4 separate regions of the Homo sapiens genome follow, and all the other regions are linked to region 1. The links are contacts of gene promoters, found by promoter capture Hi-C in blood cells and fetal thymus (Javierre and others, 2016). All regions are on one chromosome and are shown on one strand. Each heading gives the region's core, a stretch centred on a gene start or on the middle of the fragment in contact. The rest is flanking DNA. Distances are from core to core; before and after follow the strand shown.

Region 1 (5,013 bases), core at 429-2,928:
AGAGCAACAGGAATGGGGCACAAATCTGAAGAAGGGCTGGGCGCGGTGGCTCACACCTGTAATCCCAACACTTTGGGAGGCTGAGGCCGGAGGATTACTTGAGCCCAGGAGTTCAAGACCAGCCTTGACCTCCTCTGTGTTAAACATAAAAAAATTAGCTGGGCATGGTGGTGCACACTTGTAATCCCAACTATTCAGGAGGCAGAGGCAGGAGGATTGCTTGAGCCCAGGAGTTCAAGACTGCAGTGGGCTACTGCACTTCAGCCTGGGTGACACAGCAAGGCCCCATCTTAAGGGGGAAAAAAAAGTCTGGAAAAGGCCAAAGGATACTCAGAAGAGAGATTTCACATCCTGTTAGGTAAAACTGCAGCTGTGACTATGGGGTTGGGAAAATTTCAGAAGCAGTAGGAGAAAATCAAGAACTTCCCCTTCCTAGTGTGGAAACAGGCTCTTGGGATCTCTCCTGCCTAATGATCCCTGAAGGAGAGAGGGAAACAAACATCTTAAGGAAAAGGAAGAAATCATCATGTTTCTTTTCTCCTGGAAACCAGGCCTGTTTCAGAGGGAATAAGAAAAGTCGGCTGGGTGCAGTGGCTCATGCCTGTAATCCCAGCACTTTGGGAGGCCGAGGCTGGAGGATCACGAGGTCAGGAGTTCGAGACCAGCCTGACCAATATGGTGAAACCCCATCTCTACTAAAAATACAAAAATTAGCCAGGGATGGTGGCGGGCACCTGTAATCCCAGCTACTCAGGAGGCTGAGGCAGGAGAATCACTTGAACCTGGGAGGCGGAGGTTGCAGTGAGCCTAGATGGTGCCATTGCACTCCAGCCTGGGTGACAGAGTGAGACTTCGTCTCAAAAAAAAATTTTAAGCAAGAAAGAAAAAAAAATCAGATTCGTGATAAGCTTGTCCCAAAACCTCAGGTAAGATTGATAGTCCATTTTAGGGTGCTGCTTGCCTCCTCTTCCATCTCTCCGCCTTTGGAGAGCAGATACCTGTCCATGCTTCTTCAAAGGGTGGAATGAGATCCCATCCATCTTACATGTATTCAACAGTAGCTTATTGAATGCTTCCTGTGTTCAGGGAGCTCTTCTAGGTATTGAAGAAGTGGCTGTGAATGAAAATAGACAAAACCAGACTGAGATAATGGTATGTAAAGTGTGATATGAATATGGGGGTCAGGCTCGCTCAATGCTTTTGCCATTTCCATATGGGATGATTCCAACAAGATACTTATAGTCAAGCTGTTAGAAATAAAGGCTTCCTTTCCCCTCTCCAGCTACCCCAATAAATCTGGGTCATTCATCATTGTTGTTCAGTTTGTACTGAGCAGCCCCAGTTAAGTGAGCTATGGTTATATTGAAATATCCACTTGGCCACGAATTGAGTGAAGGTGGGAGGTTCCTCCTGCTAATTCTCCTCCCCTCCCAATACACTTCCTGGCAACCCCCACGCGGAAAACCTCACCCTACTATAGGCCCCCTTCCTCCCACTCTTCAGAAGGCGGTGGCCCCACCCAGGAGAGGGCTGCAGATCGGGGCCAGCCCCAGGGCCTCCGCGGTGCCACCTCTCTCTCGCGAGGGTCCCTGCCGTGCCCCGGCTCGCCGCTGGGAGGCGCTGCGGCACCGGCGTAGGAGCCGCCGGCAGGGGTGGGGCGGGGCCGGCGGGACGGGGCAGAGGGCCCTGCGGCGGCGGACGCGGCGGGCTCGGCCACAGGTAACCCGCAGGAGCCGAGAGCGCTGCCTGGCGCGCGGGCGGCTGGAGGCACGGCGCTGGGCGGCGCCGAGGCCCTGGGGCCGCCGGAGCCAGCGGGAGCCAGTCCCCGTCTTCGCCCCTCGCCCCCCACCGTGTCGCCGGCCTTGGTCCCTGCGGCGCGGACGTCCGGCGCGGGAGAGAAAGGTACCAGGCGACCTCGCCGGCTCCCTGGGACCCCCGCTTACACCGGGGTGGGCGCCTCAGGTCGGGGAGGACGCTGTCGGGGGAAGGGGGCGCTGCTCCCTCGGCACCCCAGGATCGCCGACTGCCCGCGGAGGAGACCCGGACACCGCGCCTCGCCCCCTGGCCTGCGGCCTCCGAAAACGCCCGGCGCGAGGGGGTCCCCCCGGGGCGCCTCCCTCTTCGCCTGGCATCAGTTGCCTCCCTGGAATATGGAACTTCGGGCGAGGGAGGTGGAGAACTTTCTTCTGGGGCTCGTCCCTCGTTCTCCTGCTCGCTTGCAGTTTGAAGGAAGGGCGGTGGGGGCGGGGGTCCGAGTACCCCGCGGTCTGCGGCGCGTAGGAGGGTAGGTCCCTGGCCTGCGGCCGCCTCCGAATGACCCCGTCCCTCCCCGCCCTGGACGACAGCACTAGGGTGCAGTCGCAGGAGAGGGGCCGATACCCCTCAGGAGCCCCATCGGCGAAGCCTCAGCAAGTGGCATCTCCCGGGGTCCAGAGAGTCGGCGTGCTGTCTGGTTTGGGTCCAGACATCAGCTCACCCAAGCTTATCTTGGGCTTTTAAGTGTGTTGCTTCCGGTAGATCTCGGGGACTGGAGGGGAAGTGCAGCATTATTTGTGACCCAAGAGGGACTTGAATGTCTCAAAGCTGGTCAAGAATGTTTCCCCCGCGAGGTAGCATGAGATGGGTCACGTGGTAGTAAAGAGCCACTTCGGGCCCGTGAGATGGAGTTCTGACTCCACCACTTGTTAGGTGTGTGACTTTGGAAAACCCACTTCTTTAAACCTTAGTTTTTAGAACTCTAAACTGCAGGTATTGTACATAACCTCGTAGTATTGTGTTCATGCAGTGAAGTGATGGGAATGAAATGCTTGGCATTGTACTCTTGTGTGTTAGACACCTTTTGCGAACCTGTTGGATGTTGAATTCATTCATGCTTAGGTTCTGTTAGGCCAGTGTAAGTGGAAAGAACTTGGGCAATGAAGACAAACACACCTGGGTCCAAGGTGGTCCCATCCATGGTATACTGATTGGGGGTTTCTCATCCCCAAAACACCAATAGCAGCCTTGGCGGGGTTTTTGTTGTTGTTGTTTTGAGACAGAGTTTCGCTCTGTTGCCCAGGCTGTAAGCTTTGACCTCCTTAGCTCAACCGATCTTCCCACCTCAGCCTGGGACCACCACACCTGGCTAATTTTGAATTTTTTTATTTTACTAGAGACAGAGTCTCACTGTGTTGCCTAAGCTGGTCTCGAACTCCTCCTGTCTCAGCCTCCCAAAGTGTTGGGATTACAGGTGTGAGCCACTGTACTGGTCTGCAGCCTTGTTCTTGAGTGTAGTAGGTGTGTCTATACCGATACATGTTACACTTTGTCATCTTTAGTATTTGTTTAGCATATGGTAACAAAAAATTTTTTAAAAATTAGGGATACAAATTAAAATTGGGGAGTATTTTCTGCCCTCTAGGTCATACTGGACATGGGGGAAGGGTAGAAGAGGGATGAAGAGGAATTAAAGAGACCAGAAAACAACTAGTCGCAGTGTTGGGAGGTATAAACCAATGGTAATTTTTAAAAATGTGAATTTATTAACTCCTTGTTTTTTCATGGTGGCACCAAAAATTAATCTTAGTCTCCCACTTAAACTCATCAGCCTCCCCAAAGCCTTTCCAGATAAGCATATGCTCCATGTAAAAGCAGACTGCCTGCGATCCAACTCAGCTTAGAGACAAGGCACACTTCCAACTCCCAAGGCCTCCTTCTTGTATAGAGATGCTGGTGCTGCCACTGTGAAATACATCATACACTCAGACAGTATAAACCTTAGAGTGCAATGTAAAGAATAACAATAGATCACACCCAAGTACGAGTCACCCGGCTGAAGAACTAGAACATCGCCAGGCCCCTGGAGCCCCTGAGTACCCCTCTCCATTGCCTTCCACTCACTTCTCGCCTCCCACCCAAGGAACCACTATTCTGGATGTTGTGTTAACTTTTTCCCTTGCTTATATGAAAAACCCTGAGGAAAGGAAGTTTCCCAACAAGCATTTCCACAATAACCTGGAGCATTCTTTATTTTTCTTTTTTTCTCAAGGAGCATTGTTATTGAACTTAAAAGCAGGCTATTGAGGGTAAGATACAAACCACAAAAAAGCCGAAAGTCTCAAAGTCGGGGGATCTTTTAGTCTCTGTCTTCTTCCAAGTTTCTCCTGTCTCCCTGGCACGGATCCCGAAGGTGTGTTCTGTCTGTGTAGGGGAGACCCAGTCTCTTCCAACATAGATTGATGGCTGTGATTTTAAAAGCTTTGCTTGAGTCCCTAAGAAGTGGGAAAACAGTAATTTGGGTGCGTGCGTTTTAGAAGTTTTTTTAAAAATGCAAATTATCCAGAAGGCATTGTGTGGGATTTGAAGGATTAAGCTAAGAGTGACCTTTAAAAATGGTTTTAACAACCCAAATTCCTCTTCCTGGTTGATATGTTTGTGTTATTGTCTTTGTTTTATTTCTTCAAGGTCACATGGCTTTCCTTGGTGAATCTTACACTGTTTTGTTACTTCTTGGTTAAGGCAAAGATTCTGAAACTTGGTTTCATGGAGCCCTTAGTGTCTGAGTTAATTTTTTCACAATTCCCTTAGGCTTCAGTAGTTAGTAATTTTTTCACAATTCCCTTAGGTTTCAGTAGTTAGTAGTTAGGTTCAAACAACTGAGTATTTACTTAGAAGTTGTTTGAAAAAATAATATACATAAACTGAGAGAAAAAATATTTTACATCCTTTAAAGTCATAATTACTAACCGTATGTGTGTGCCTATACTACTTTTCAAACCTTGGGATCGTGTTGGACACTGCCACTCTCATTTCCTGTTTCACATTAATATTTCCGCAGCATTTGGCTTTTATCACAGCAGCCACAGAAAACCCAGCTTTGCAAAGATGTATTGTCTTGGATAGGAATGTAACATGATCTACTGTTGAAACTGCAAACTACCTCCAGTTAATAGGTTCAGCAGTGTCCAGACATGTTTGGTATACTAGTTTCCATTGAAATTTTCAGATTTTCTACATTGCCCATTTTAATTTGCT
Region 2 (4,754 bases), core at 1,434-3,933, 450 kb before region 1:
AGGAAAAATATCTCCCCAAACTAAGAAAAGGGCAAACCATATATCTGCATCGATGTCTGCAATTTGAGATATTCACTGACAGCTATCTATTTGAAAGCAGAACTTTGTTGCTTGGTACAGATCTGTATTTGACATCATTCTATGCTTCTAAATTAATTGGAGTCTATCAGATCCTTTGGGAGAATGAAGCTTTGTTATTCCAGTCATCAGCCACCAGTATATCCTTATCATTTGTGTTTTAGGCCAGTTGTTTTTTATTCTTGATTGATAGCACACTTGGCATCTCAGGCAGAATCACCCCACATTTCCTATGTAGCATCTGATATGAAGCTGATGCTTTAAGTCTTTGCAACATGAAACCATCATTTTTACCTAATTACAGGCATCCTGTTTCCCAGGCAAATAACCTCTCTCTATACTGGATCACTCTTACTTCTTTGCAGATATCACTTGCTTGCTAGGGAGTTATTAAGTAAATGATAGCATGTGCTGAAGATCAATTTGTTTGAGAAATTTGCATTTACTCTATGTAGTACTTTACAATTTACAGAAGCATTTTCACCTATGTTAACTCATTTCATCTTTAAAAATGTAGTGAATTGGATAGGGAAGATATTATCTTTCTTATTGCAGATGAAAAGACCAGAAAGTTGTGACATACAGGAACACAACCAGTGTCTCCTGACTTTAAGTTTCAAGCACTTCTTACTGCACCACATTGCTTTCCTACTCATGGTTCAATGAGCGTATCATTTTGTGAGCAAAGAGCATGCCTAAGTTGTACATTAAAAATAGGGTGGCTAGGCGTGGTGCCTCATGCCTGTAATCCCAGCACTTTGGGAGGCCAAGGTGGGTAGATTGGCTGAGTCCAGGAGTCACAGACCCGCCTGGGCAACATGGCGAAACGCATCTCTACAAAAAAATACAAAAATTAGCTGGGCATGGTGGCGCACACCAAGATCACGCCACTGTACTCCAGCCTGGGTGACAGAGTGAGAACCTGTCTCAAAAAGAAAAGCCAGGTTGAGGGAAGAAGGAAGTGGAACGAGCTTGGGATCACCTTAGAAAAAACAAGGAAATAAGAGTAATAAATCAAGGCAAATTAATGGCCAGGGAAAATCTTAAGTTTCTGGTGACATATTTCAATACTCCAGGTTTTGGTTCTATAGAATCATAATCTCAAATATCATTGACTCACTTCTAGAATGGATATCTTAAATTGGGCCCTAGTTTTAGGCTCATATAAAGCACATTCAAGTCTAGTCCATTCAATCTATTCAAACATCTACTAAACTTTCTCTGTGTGAGGAATTTCAGGAGATACAAAGATTAAGGCACATTCTTGAACCATAAAAAGCCTATTATTAGTAGGGAGGGCTTACTTTAATTATTCATGTATTGGTTCACTTAAAAATATAGTTTAGCACCTTGCTATGTGCCAAACACTATCCTAGGTAGACAAGAACAACAATGAACAAGACAAGGGCCCTGACCTCAAGGACTTTACTTGGCCAGTATAGAATACGGGAAAAATAGTGGGGCCGCTGCCCAAGTTACCAAAGAATCACAGTGAAGGGTATCTATCCCAATCCTGAAGAGTCAAAACACAGTTCCCAGGAGGAAGGGACATTTAAGCTGGGCCAAGTTAGGGTAGGGGAAGGGCCATAAATGCAAAGGCCTAGGGGCTATGGTGAGCTGGTAAATGTTTAATAACTCTCTAGAGAGAAGCAAGAATGCCCTAATTTGTAGATTTTGCCAGTTTCCTTGATTTACTCCCACCATGACCTCACTGAACATGCAATTGGGAAGAGACATGCACCATACGCTCTCACACTCCCACACAAATCAACTCTAGAACACCACTGCTTACAGATAAAAGTATGGTACTTCTGGGCAATGTCAAGCCCATCTATAGAATGGGAACTGTGTGTGTGTGTGTGTTTGGGGCAGTGAGCAGGGGAGGGAGTGGAGGTAGAAAAGGGAATGGTGGGAGGGAAGGCTAGGGAGGGAGGGAACATGCCCACATGCCACTTTAAAGAGTTTGGACTTTATCTGGGGCTGTGCAACTTCATCAAGTAAACATGAGTCACTGAGGTAAATATGGAGTCATTGAATGGTTTTAAGGAAGGGGGTGACCTTGTTGAGAGTGATACCTATTGTTTACAGCAATAGCCTATTTTTCCCTTCTAGAGAAAGAGGATTTTGTCTGTTTTCATCCCAGCCATATCTCCAGTCCTTAGAACACAGCCTGCCATAACGTGACCTCTCCACAAGAAACAAGAGACTGCTTCCAGTGCTCTGGAGTATGAATGAGAAGTCATGAAGTCAACCTAGAGAGTGGAGACAGTGAGTGAGATAATATCTATAGCAAAGGGAGCAAGGAACTAAAGCAGCCACTGTCAGCTAACTTGAAGTCAAAGGGTTGATTCAGGGATTTTTTAATATAAAAGAAATGTGGCCAGGCATGGTGTCTCATGCCTGTAATCTCAGCACTTTGGGAGGCTGAGGCAGGAGGACTGCTTGAGCTCAAGAGTTCTAGACCAGCCTGAGCAACATGGCGAGACCCTGTCTCTATTAAAAAACAAAAATAAATAAATAAAAGAAATAAGTCAGGTGCAGTGGCTCACACCTGTAATCCCAGGACTTTGGGAAGCCAAAGCGGGTGGATCACCTGAGGTTGGGAGCTCACGACCAGCCTGACCAACATGGAGAAACCCCATCTCTACTAAAAATACAAAATTAGCCAGGCATGGTGGCGCATGCCTGTAATCCCAGCTACTCGGGAGGCTGAGGCAGGAGAATCGCCTGAACCCAGGAGGCGGAGGTTGTGGTGAGCCGAGATCATGCTATTGCACTCCAGCCTGGGCAACAAGAGCGAAACTCCATCTCAAAAAAAAAAAAAAAGAAAAGAAATAAATATAAAAGAAATTTGATTACATTTAAGTGACTATGACAAAAAGCCAGTGGAGAAAAGAGGGAATAACTGATTAAACAAACTTTACTAATGCTTTAAAAATAATATTAAATGCATTTAAATAACTATATACCACACAATTTAATTAAAAAATAAATAGAAATTTAAACTACAATTTAATTAATATAAACAAATTTAATAAGATTAAGCACATTTTATTAAGGCTAAAAAGCCATGGAATTGCTTTGAGAGCAAGATCTTTGTCTGTTTTACTCACTGCTATATCCCCGGTACCTAGAACAATACCTGGAACATAGCAGATGCTCAACAAATATTTGCTGATTGAATGAATGTATGACTGGATAAAAGTAACCATTCATTGGGCACTTACTTTGTGCCAGGATCAAATGATTTTCATGCATATTATCCTCAATTCTCACAACAGCCTTAGGAGGTAAACGATTATTTTCATTTACTAATGAGGAAAGAGAACTTTAGTGAGATTTAGAAACTTGCTCATAATCACACAGCTACTGAGTGACAGACATGGAACTTATTCCAGGTCAATCTAAATCAAAGCTATGCTTTTAAGAGCAACTGTGATTTTAAGTGTCTGGATTTTTTTTTTTTTTTTTCTGAGACAGGGTCTTGCCTGTCGCCCAGGCTGGAGCGCCGTGGCTCATTCACAGCTCACTGCAGCCTCTACCTCCTGGGCTTAAGTGATCCTCCCACCTCAGCTTCCCCAGTAGCTGGGACTACAGGTGCATGCCAATGCACCCAGCTAGCTTTTTAAATTTTTTGTAGAGACAAGGTCTCACTATGTTTCCCAGGCTGGCCTCAAACTCCTGAGCTCAAGCCATCCTCCCATCTGGGCCTCCCAAAGTGCTAGGAGTACAGACAAGAGCCACCACACCTGGCCCTAGCGTTCAAATAGTTAAATATCTGAAGCAAAAACTGAAAATATTTGAGAAAGGAAAAGGAAAACTTTTGGTTCCTTGTGTCACCAGAATACATAGAATAGAGGAGCTAATTATAGAAAGAATAGCATAGCAGTTAAGCGTGTAGCCTGTGGAGCCACATGCCTGGGTTCAAATCCTAGCTCTAATGCTCACTAGCTGTGCAACTTCATCAAGTTACTTAACCTTTCTGTGCACTGGTTCCCTCCCCTATAAAATGGAGATAATGATAGCACCTACTTCATGGGATGGTTAGGAGAACTAAATGAGTTTATACATGTAAAGCACATGGAAAAAAAACCATTTTGTGTTTGCTGTGATTGTTATAGCCTATTTTTCCCTTCTAGAGAAAGAGGATTTTGTCTGTTTTCATCCCAGCCGTATCTCCAGTCCTTATAACACAGACTGCCAAAATGGGGCTTCTCCACAAATGTTTATTTTTGTTTTTTTTTTAATGAGATAATTAGTAAAATGAATGTCCAGCATATGTGTGTGTGTGCTGCTCAGAAGATTCATTGAATCTGAAGATAAAAACATTAATTTTGCTCACAAATCATGTTATATCATACTTTTTTAAAAAATGTGATTAGCCACTATAAATCAACTAAAAATCTCTCTCTCTCTTTTTTTTTTTTTTTTTTTTTGAGATGGAGTCTCGCTCTGTCGCCCAGGCTGGAGTGTAGTGGTGCGATCTTGTCACACTGCAACCTCTGCTTCCCGAGTTCAAGCGATTCTCATGCCTCAGCCTCCCAAGAAGCTGGAATTACAGGCACATGCCACCACACCTGGCTAATCTTCATATTTTTAGTAGAGATAGGGTTTCACCATATTGGCCAAGCTGGCCTCAAACTCCTGGCCTCAAGTAATTCTCCCACCTTAGCCTC
Region 3 (5,024 bases), core at 1,364-3,863, 280 kb after region 1:
CATTCAAGCTATTTTCCAGAAAAGTACCTGGATACCAGATCTCTATTAGAGCAAACTGCAGTGGTCAACTCTCTTAGGTCACTGGGTTGCCACCTTTAAAAATAATTTCCTCGTACTCAAGAATGTAGGGTATTACAACTTAGAAACATTCTGCAATACTTCATAGTACCTTCCGGTTTGCTGGTGAATGCTGGGAACAGACATATACTTCCCAGCATGCTTCAGAAAAGGCTCTGTCTAAACTCAGCCCTCGCTGCAGGTACTGGACAATTAGTATGGCTGTCTGGATTAGAGTTGATACAGAAGATGTTGGAGAACCTATTAAAAAAAAATTGCCATCTATAAACAATAGAGTCTTTAAAATCTCCAATGAAAATGGATAAATTCTGCCCTCCCATCAAACCTCCTTCCTGTCAACCCCACCCAAATACTTACTTTACAAAACATTCCAAGTAGACTCTAGAGTCCTCCGAGGGCACAAAGGACCTGTAGGAACCTTTGTATTCCTATCTCCCCTGTTTCTCTATGGCTGTCTGTAGTTTATTATGGGGGACTCATTTATAGATGTGATAAAGTCTGGTCACATATATCCTTAATCTAATGCTGACACACACTGAAGGTGGCAAGTTGAGTGTAACCTCATAAAAGACCATGGGATTTGAAATCCAACAGGCCTATTTGCAAATTCCAGCTGTTATTATTAACTGATAAATTACTCAAACTCTCTGAGTCTTATCTGAAAAATGAAAACATATGCCTTGCAGAACTAATGTAAAGATTAAATAAACAGCTGGGCATGGTGGCTCACGCTTGTAATCCCAGCACTTTGGGAGGCCTAGGTGGGCGGATCACGAGGTCAGGAGATTGAGACCACAGTGAAACCCTGTCTCTACTAAAAATAAAAAAAAAATTAGCCGGGCGTGGTGGCAGGTGCCTGTAGTCCCAGCTACTCGGAGAGGCTGAGGCAGAAGAATGGCATGAACCTGGGAGGCGGAGCTTGCAGTGAGCCAAGATCACGCCACTGCAGTCCAGCCTGGGCGACAGAGTGAGACTCTGTCTCAAAAAAAAAGAAAAAAAAAAAAAGATTAAATAAACAATCTGCATGGTACCTAACACAGAGTAGTTATCCAACAAGCAATACTTCATTTATTATCTTGTTCCTTTTTGTGTAATTGAAAGTTTAGAAAAAGTAACACCTGTCTGCTTTAAACAACTCAAAGTTTCCTCTTTATTCCAACTTCAAGAGGCTGTTGATGACCCTGGAGAAATGATGGGCAAACTTCATAAACCTCAGTGCGTAAAGTGGAATTACTCGAGGGTTAGCCTCTGCTTACTTGCATCAGAATGACATAAGAAGCGTCTTTCAGATACTGATTCCTGTGCCTTGCCCTGCCCTGCTGAACCCAATCTCTTGGGGTGTCTGGAAATCCACATTTTTAACAAGCTTTCCTGATAATTTCTATATACACTAAATGTACGAAATCTTTGATGAGCAGTCCAATGGAATGACATAAATTTCTTGAAGACTAAAACTCTGCAAAGGCCCAAAAGTCAAGCACCTCACCTACAACAGTGCTCCGGGTCTCTGTGTGTAAAGCCAAGAGGATGTCACATACACTGTTCCCCACCAATCCAAGGCTGTGCAGCAGAACTTTCAAATCCAGGTTGTCTGGGGTGCTTGCATCCCCTTCCCCTGAAATGTAGATTTCAAGTCCACGATTCCTCATAGCTCGGGATATATCTCCATGAACAGGATCCATCGAGAGGAAAAGTCTAGAAAAATAGCAATTCAAAGAAAAAAATGATTTTAAATCCCAGTGCAACCAAAGGTGTAGCTCAGCATCAGTCAGTGAGGGCAAATCCTATGTGGCTCATTGTCACAGAATTCACACCAAGGATCTTTTACTTCTAGCATGCATCAATATAGCAAAAGATTTTCTCTAAACCTACTTTCCTAAGGAACTGTGTATGATATATCCAGTGTACCTTTAGTGCTGAGAACTTTAAAAATTTAACCTTCAGATATTCCCCAGAGTAGGCTGTACTAATTCATTATTCTAACTCACCTACAGACAGCAGAACAGGAAGCAAGTGTAGTCTCCTGAAACAACTGGATTCATATATTGAATGCCCATCAACATCTCCATCTAGTTATCTTACACCTCTGATGTATGTCTGAAAGTAAACAGCTGATTCCCGGTAGACCCTCCCCACATTAAACCTGCTCCTTTACCAGTCTTCCCTTTCTCAATGAATGGCAACCCCATTTACCCAGTTACTCAAGCCAAAAACATAGGTGTCATCCTTGATTCTTCTTTTTCTCAACCCACATGTCCATCAGCAAACCAACCCATCTGACCACCCTCATCTAAGCCACTGTGATGTGTTGCCTAAATTACTGCAAAAGGATCATGACTGGTATCTCTGCTTCCCACCTTCGTCACCAATGCAAGGCAAGGACCTTGCCCCTCTTGTTTATGCTGTGTTTCCAGAGCCCAGCAATGCCTGGCAAATAGTAAAGCCTCAGTAAGTATTTGTTAAGTGAATTAATAAATGGGTGAACTTCTCCATGATTCAGTTTATAAATAAAATATATAAGGAAGTCCTACTGAACGTCTACCTCTGCTACTGAGGCTGTCAGATTCTGAGGCAGAAATGTAAGAGATACAAATACCTGAAATTGGGATTTGGTGTTATCGTGGGAGTGGATCCATCTATCATTCCTCTCTCACTAATAGTGAGGACACCTCCGGGTTCAAGCAAAGCATTCAAACGATCCAACACTGATGGGCTGCAGAGACAGAATTCAGATGGTGGATAGGCTGACATGCTGCATTGACTCTTCTTTCCTTCCATGCACGGGGCTCCAAATGCTTTTGACTCACATTTCCTTTCGGCACAATCATTCACCCAGATACAACAGTGATCTCTTTCAAAAGTAGATTCCCCATTGATTTTCCTTCTCGCTTCCCTAGGCACATAGCCCAGGGCCTTATACACAGTAAATACACAAGATATTTTTGAATAAATGAAATTAAAGAAAATGATAAGTTCCTTGCACTATAACCTTTTCACTTTTTCCTTTCCTGCCCCCCATCCCTCAACATTATCAAATCCATTTAAGGCAGCTGGATTTCAATTTGTAACATTCAGATAAATGCTCCGTGAAGAAATAGTCATCATCTAACTTGTAGTAGCTTCTATGTTAACTGTATATGTACAATAGTTTCACACTTGTCCTTTACCTTACTGCAAGATCAAGAATGATACATGGTTGAATTGCTGCATCACTGATGGCCATTTAATAAATGCCTGCCCTGTGTCAGACCCTGCATTAGAAAAAACTGCACTGAAGAAACCCTAACAAAAGGAAGACTTCTGATATTAAATTAAAAGGCCTAACTCAAAGGACATTGCCAGGAAAAATAATCCAATTTTGTTAGCCTTTGCTTTGGCTGAAAATTATCATACAGAGCTGAAATCTTATAACTGTCTGATGACGAATTACCACTGTTCACCACAGGGAGAAGTCTACAGAATATGGCTGAGGACGCTTGCGTAATTAAGAAAAACAGTAGCTTCAAAATACCAGCACTTCTATCTGGGTTTCTACTTTGACAAGCATATCCCAAATTTCAAGTTGGACCACTGATTAGGCATAAGGTTCTTACTTGCAGAAGTTAACATTGTCCATCAGAAGCCAGTCTCCAGACTTCAGGGCCTGAACCAACATGCTGTCAACCCATTCAAATGTGCCATGGCTATGGCCACTGGCCAACTGCGTAAGCTTCACACCAAAGCTTCGGAACTCTTCAACAAGTTTGGCAAACTCTGAAATGTCACAGGGAAGAATCACCATCCACAGCACTTAACTTCAAACAAAGAATTAAGTTTATGAAAAGGAAGCTTGATACTTCTAGCCAAGGTTTTTAAGATTTCATAAAAGAATAAATAGAAGAATGTTTTGCTTCTGTTTAAACACAGATAGGAAAGTTAAGTTTAAGACAGAAAATACGTTTTAATGGCTCTCTGTATTAATAGCTACTCAGGGTTGACTCTAGGGTGATAGAGGTGGCAAATGATTTTTCTGTATTACGGTTTCTCAAATGGCAGAAGGAGGACGTTTCCCACCTATCAGTGCATTTATACTAAATGAAAGTGCTATAACTTCACACAGTGCAAACTGGGCTTCCTTTATAATGAGCATATCATATGATTATAGTAATATAGTAATAACTGGTAATTACTTGCCAAATGCTTTATAGTTTATATAGCCCTTCCCTCGAAATTTTTCAGTTGATCTTTTTGGTTGGAAACTGTTTTATGACCATTTTTCATATCACAAGGTAATACACATTGGATTTCTACTTCTAAAGATGAGGGAGTAACGAGGTTTAGACTTAACATACCATAGTCCAACCACTTGCTAACTGTAAAACTGTAGGCAAGTAATTTTGTCTCTTTGAATATTCACATCCTCATCTATTAGATGTAGATAATCCTTCCTATAATGCAGTGTTGTCACGGTGATTAAAAGTACATATATTCAGTATAGTGTTTATAATAGAAATTCATAACTCAATGGTGAGTTTTACAATACCCATTTAAAAATATATGACACATGACTGCATCGGATATCTTTTATAATTAGAGTGAATGAGTAAAGGATTTCAAGTTCAAATGGCAGGCTTAAAGTGAGAAATGACAGATCAAATCAACAATGAAGAAAGTAAATGAGTGGCCCACCGCCACAGATAAAATGTTTGCTGGCCAAGAAGTGGGATGTCTGATTTCTTCGGCTATAAGGAATCAACACTTTGTAATCAGTTACAAGCAGGCTTTGGAAATAAAGAATGACAAGCATAGTGACAGACCCAGCCTGTGGGCCTTTAGGTTGAATCCTCCCTAAGAGCATGCTCACCACCACTCTGAAAGTGGCACCACAAAATGAGAGAAATTTCCATGTTAATTGGATGGCATACAGGATGATATATTTCCTCCATCTCCACACAAATGAATAAACA
Region 4 (4,717 bases), core at 1,674-4,173, 320 kb after region 1:
AAGGAAGGAGACAAATGCTACATACCTTTCTGCCTCCATAAAGTCCTGGGGGATTTTGGGTGGCAAAAAGCATAAACCGAGGGTGTGCTTTAACAACTTCCTGTGTTTCTGTTACTAGCAATTCACGGTTATCATCCAACAGCCTATTCAGCGCCTCTAACACATCAGTAGGGGCCAAATTTAATTCATCTAAAATAATCCAATAGCCTTTTCTCATGGCATCAATAAGAACACCTAGGAAGAAACAAACAGCAAGAACTAGTGTATAAATCAGTACAAAGTTTTAAAATGCATTATGTACAAATCAACAAATCCTAGGTTATCATCAAATTTCAAAGCAAATTACTTTCTGTAGCTAGTCTTGCCTCAAAACAAATTATGACACTGCAGATCAAGGAGGAACAATTTTCAATTAAAATAGTCCCTTTTTTCCCCACAGAAAAGAAGCCAAGGCTGAAAATACCTCATATTTCTTGTGTAATCTTTCCCCTGCAGTCTAATTTCATTTAAATCACCACATTCTGTTGACTATTCCCAACTTCCTTTTGGCTAACACTAACCCCATTCTCTGAATTCCTAGAAAATAAAGCAGCAGTTCAATTCCCCTCTTGAAAATTGGCCCTAGTCCTGTATACAGCCAGCAAGATTAGCAGAACCTAAAGAAAGCCAGCACCTTATGCATCACCCCTTAACTATCTTAGCTCAGGCATCAAGAAAAGCCGGCTGTTACAGCAAAGGTCCATGTGCCTCAATTGGAAAGGATGAAGAATATTACTTAAGGAAATGTGTGTGAAAGAATAAACACCTATGTCCATGGAATGGAATCTTAACCCTACCTTCCTTAAAGACAAGCTTCCCTGAGGAGTCAGACGTGTAACAACCAATGTACTCCTGAATATCCGTGTGTTCGTGATTATTAATACGCACACAGTGGTTGCCAGTAGCTGCAGCCAGCCACTGGATCAGGCTTGTTTTACCAACTGATGTCTCTCCCTGAATCAGCACTGGATAGGTTCTGTAAAAGATTAGCCAATTAAGCAACTTAAAACAACAAAAAATTACAAAGCTGAGAAACCAGAACTGAGTATTGGTTTGTTTTGTTTGACAAAGGGTTTCACTCTGTTGCCCAGGCTGAAGTATGGTGGTGCAATCATAGCTCACTGCAGCCTCGACCTCCCAGGCTCAAGTGATCCTCCCACCTCAGCCTCTTGAGTAGCTGGGACTACAGACATGCACCACCAAGCCCAGCTAAATTTTGTATTTTTTGCAGAGACAGAGTCTTGCCGTGTTGCCCAGGCTGTTCTCAAAACCCTGGGCTCAAGTGATCCGACCGCCTTGGCCTCCCACAGTGCTGGGATTACAGGCATGAGCCACTGCACCTGGCCAAGTATTATTTTGGTTTTTTTTTTTTAAAAGAATGACGACATCATTTAACAGCATCATTAAAAGAGCATTTTTTTTTCCTTTTTTTTCCCCTTTTTACATTTCTGGAAAATGCAAGAAGCAGAAGAACATTTTTATTCCTATACACTGAGAAGTATCTTTGTAAACATTATTCCTCAAAAAATACTAAGGAAAGCAATTCCAACTATGCTGGCAACATTTGTAAGAAACTGTAAGTAGAACTTTTAGCCATTTACTGAATAATCTGTGGTATTTATCAGCAAAATAACAAAAGATAACTTTAAAGATAGATAAAATCATCTGCATCCATAGTGCTCCCTCCAAAGTTGCACAACTAGAAACAAAGTTTTCTACCAGGAAAAAGTTATAGTACTGACTTTTGTAAGTAATTGTTCAGTTGGCCAATGAATAAGAATAAAGCTCTTTGAAAGTTAAGGAAGTTAGACCAAAATGTCATCAATGCCTATGCCTGTATCAAGTTCGGGGCAGCGAGAAAAAAGCCCACACACCCTGCAGAGACAACTCGGACTATATCTCTCAGGTTCAGCTTCACAGAAGATGTCAGAATGTACGTCTCATCTATTGTAGGCTCCTTGTCTCCCACCGCAATCCAGTAGCCTTCAACCTGGATAAGCCGACCTCCTTTTGGCTCTGGAATAGGCTGAAAGACACAGAAGTTCAAGGAATAACCCACAGTTGTACATTCTTTCAGAGAAGGGCATAAAGTAGGAAAACAGCCACTTGTTGAACAAGCTGTCTTGTTCTGCATACTTTCAACATTAAAACTGGATGAAATATGAACATAAAATTATGAGGAATGAGAACAAAATGGTGTTATATATTGGTTTTAAAACTGAAGTGGAGTAGGTGGGTTTGGAAAAAAGCTGAATCAAAACAAATTCCCAGAAGGTTTATGTACCAGTTCTCTTCTCTCACATATCAAAATGCCCACTCCAATTATTTTTATCAAAAACATGAATTTCATATAAACCATGTTCCCCGAAAAAGGGCCAGTGTTGTAGTAAGGAAGGAGGTTTTGCACTATTATACTCTGGATTGCCTAGAAGACATTAAAAGTAAACCTGACTTTTCAGAGCAACTAGCCCATTAAGGATAATATTGTGGATGATGGCATCACTTTGCTGAGATATGGTTTAAGTTATTAGTTTCGATTATACAAATTCCCATTTTTATAAGTAAAAAAATGGTTAAATGGTGGTCAAATCTATAACTATGGAAAAGTACTCTTCTAGAGCATTTGGTCCCCAGATTTCAAGCTACACGTCTAGGCCCTGCTTTTAAGGCCTCCTCAGTTGAGTTGAGAAGCAATAGGGGGAGGGGAGGAAGGATCTTTTTAAGTTTCTATCACACCCTGAGGCATACACACACAAAAAGACCAACTGGAAGAGACTGGTATTTGATTACAATAATGGTAAAAGCAAACCTGAGTCTTTACTCAATGTTTTTACAATTTACCGAAAGTATTTACGCATGTGTTACTTGTACGATTTTTTAAAAGGCTGAGTCCAAAGAAACTCCAAGTCCCAAGGGCTCTCTCTTCCTAATGAATAAGCAATCAACAAGTAAACAAGCCAATTTACATGTTGATTGTGAGCAAGTTTCTCTCAGCCTCTTTCAGTCCCATGCTATTCTGTAATTTCCTGCCAAATCCAAAACGGCTATTGTTTCTAACAGTGCCCCCACTACTGCCTCCTCAAAAAAGACCCAACCATCAATCAGAAGGTATAGATTATACCTAACTGTGTAGTTAAACTATGCAAATAGTGAAACTATGGTGTACCCATCCAGTGAAATGCTATGTGGCCCTTAGAAGGCATGTCACAATGAACTCTGGTACAAAAACAAAAATATATCCAAGATTCAGATAGGTTAAAAAGGAAAGCTACAGAATATTCTTATGGGCCGGGCACGGTGACTCACGCCTGTAATCCCAGCACTTTGGGAGGCCGAGGTGGACGGATCATGAGGTCAGGAGTTCGAGACCAGCCTGGCCAACATGATGGAACCCAGTCCCTACTAAAATTACAAATATTAGCTGGGCATGGTGGCATGCGCTTGTAATCCCAGCTACTCGGGAGGCTGAGACAGGAGAATCACTTCAGCCACGGAAGGGGAGAATGCCGTGAGCTGAGATTACACTACTGCATTCCAGCCTGGGCAACAGAGCAAGACTCTATCTGCAAAAAAAAACAAAACAAAACAAAACAAAAAAACAATATTCTTATAAGACAGTCCCACTTACATTAAACGCATATTACAATTTTTTACAATTTTACAATTTACCTCAATAAATCAACATATACATATCAAAATTTGGATATGTAAGAAAATAAAATATATACATTATACAATTTATCTGGAAAGATTATCCACAGTATTTAAATCTCCAAAGAGCACGCTTATTGGAAACTTTCACCATCTAAACATATGTTTCTGTAATGTTTAAACTTTTTGCAACAGATTACCTTTATAATTAAAAAGTTATGTGAAAAAAAAAAAACCAAACAGCTGAAAATTTGGTAATTCAGCCTTTCAAGTGTAACAAGTCAAAAATAACAAAAGAACATACCTGCTTCAGCAGACTCTTGACATTGCCAGGGACAATGTGTTGACAGATGAGCTTCTGAACTATTGGGTGTGATGCCCTGTCAAGCTGTGTTAAGAAACCCAAACAAAAACCCTAGAAAGAAAAGACAAATATGCATAATGCTAAATAACCTTCTGCAATACAACCAAACTTATTTCCAGAACAAAATTTAACCTCTTGGGTGATGCTGCTTCCCAACTTTTAAATATAGTAAGGTGGTAGATAAAGGGAAGGGTAGGCCAGGCACGGTGGTTCATGCCTGTAATCTCAGCACTTTGGGAGGCCAAGGCAGGAGGACAGCTTGAGCCCAGGAGTTCGAGACCAGAGTGGGAACACAGTGACACCCTGTCTCTATGTATAATTAAAAATAAAAATTTTAAAATAAAAAGTAAAATATTTAATTTAAAAGGGCAAGGTAAATCTGGTAAGAGGTATTATGGGCTGATCTGACTAACTGGAAAGCACAGGCAACCTGGCATATGCATCCCTATTCCTTCCTTCCCATGAACCCATCCATTAAGCTCATATCCAGTCAAAGAGACTTCAGAAAGACCTCATAGAGTGAGCGCTGAATGTTGCCACATGGATTGGAGGCTGCAAATCGCAGGGCCCGGCACAGAGTCCGAAGGCTGTAGTGAGGTCTATGGCCAGTGCCATCCACCAGTTTGGTCCCAGACTCTTTCCGCAAAGCTGTGTAGAAGCTAC

Evidence for each region. The method cuts DNA at HindIII sites, captures the fragments that hold promoters and counts their contacts. A CHiCAGO score of 5 or more calls a contact.
Region 2: a fragment that was not itself captured here is called in contact with the fragment with the promoter of ANKRD6 in region 1 in 5 of 17 cell types (naive B cells, total B cells, neutrophils and 2 more); the score reaches 7.3 in naive B cells.
Region 3: a fragment that was not itself captured here is called in contact with the fragment with the promoter of ANKRD6 in region 1 in 1 of 17 cell types (M2 macrophages); the score reaches 5.3 in M2 macrophages.
Region 4: a fragment that was not itself captured here is called in contact with the fragment with the promoter of ANKRD6 in region 1 in 1 of 17 cell types (M1 macrophages); the score reaches 5.7 in M1 macrophages.

Annotation. Positions count from the first base shown.
Region 1 is chr6:89,431,474-89,436,486 of GRCh38, forward strand. It overlaps ANKRD6 (ankyrin repeat domain 6), which reads left to right and starts at 1,679. Exons shown (of 16, transcript NM_001242809.2): 1 at 1,679-1,902. It overlaps LOC124901360 (a long non-coding RNA gene), which reads right to left. Exons shown (of 2, transcript XR_007059675.1): 1 at 1,944-5,013; 2 at 1-1,114. RefSeq lists a silencer at 1,471-1,950. The HindIII fragment of the contact is 1,573 bases long and covers 907-2,479 here.
Region 2 is chr6:88,984,064-88,988,817 of GRCh38, forward strand. No RefSeq gene overlaps it. Among named protein-coding and RNA genes, the nearest start is that of RNGTT, 23 kb to the left of the region's middle. The HindIII fragment of the contact is 4,992 bases long and covers 188-4,754 here.
Region 3 is chr6:89,712,979-89,718,002 of GRCh38, forward strand. It overlaps MDN1 (midasin AAA ATPase 1), which reads right to left. Exons shown (of 102, transcript NM_014611.3): 44 at 3,672-3,831; 45 at 2,675-2,791; 46 at 1,565-1,773; 47 at 170-318. Among named protein-coding and RNA genes, the nearest start is that of LYRM2, 77 kb to the left of the region's middle. The HindIII fragment of the contact is 2,343 bases long and covers 1,443-3,785 here.
Region 4 is chr6:89,749,518-89,754,234 of GRCh38, forward strand. It overlaps MDN1 (midasin AAA ATPase 1), which reads right to left. Exons shown (of 102, transcript NM_014611.3): 21 at 4,566-4,713; 22 at 3,995-4,105; 23 at 1,914-2,065; 24 at 837-1,015; 25 at 26-234. Among named protein-coding and RNA genes, the nearest start is that of MDN1, 68 kb to the right of the region's middle. The HindIII fragment of the contact is 4,147 bases long and covers 851-4,717 here.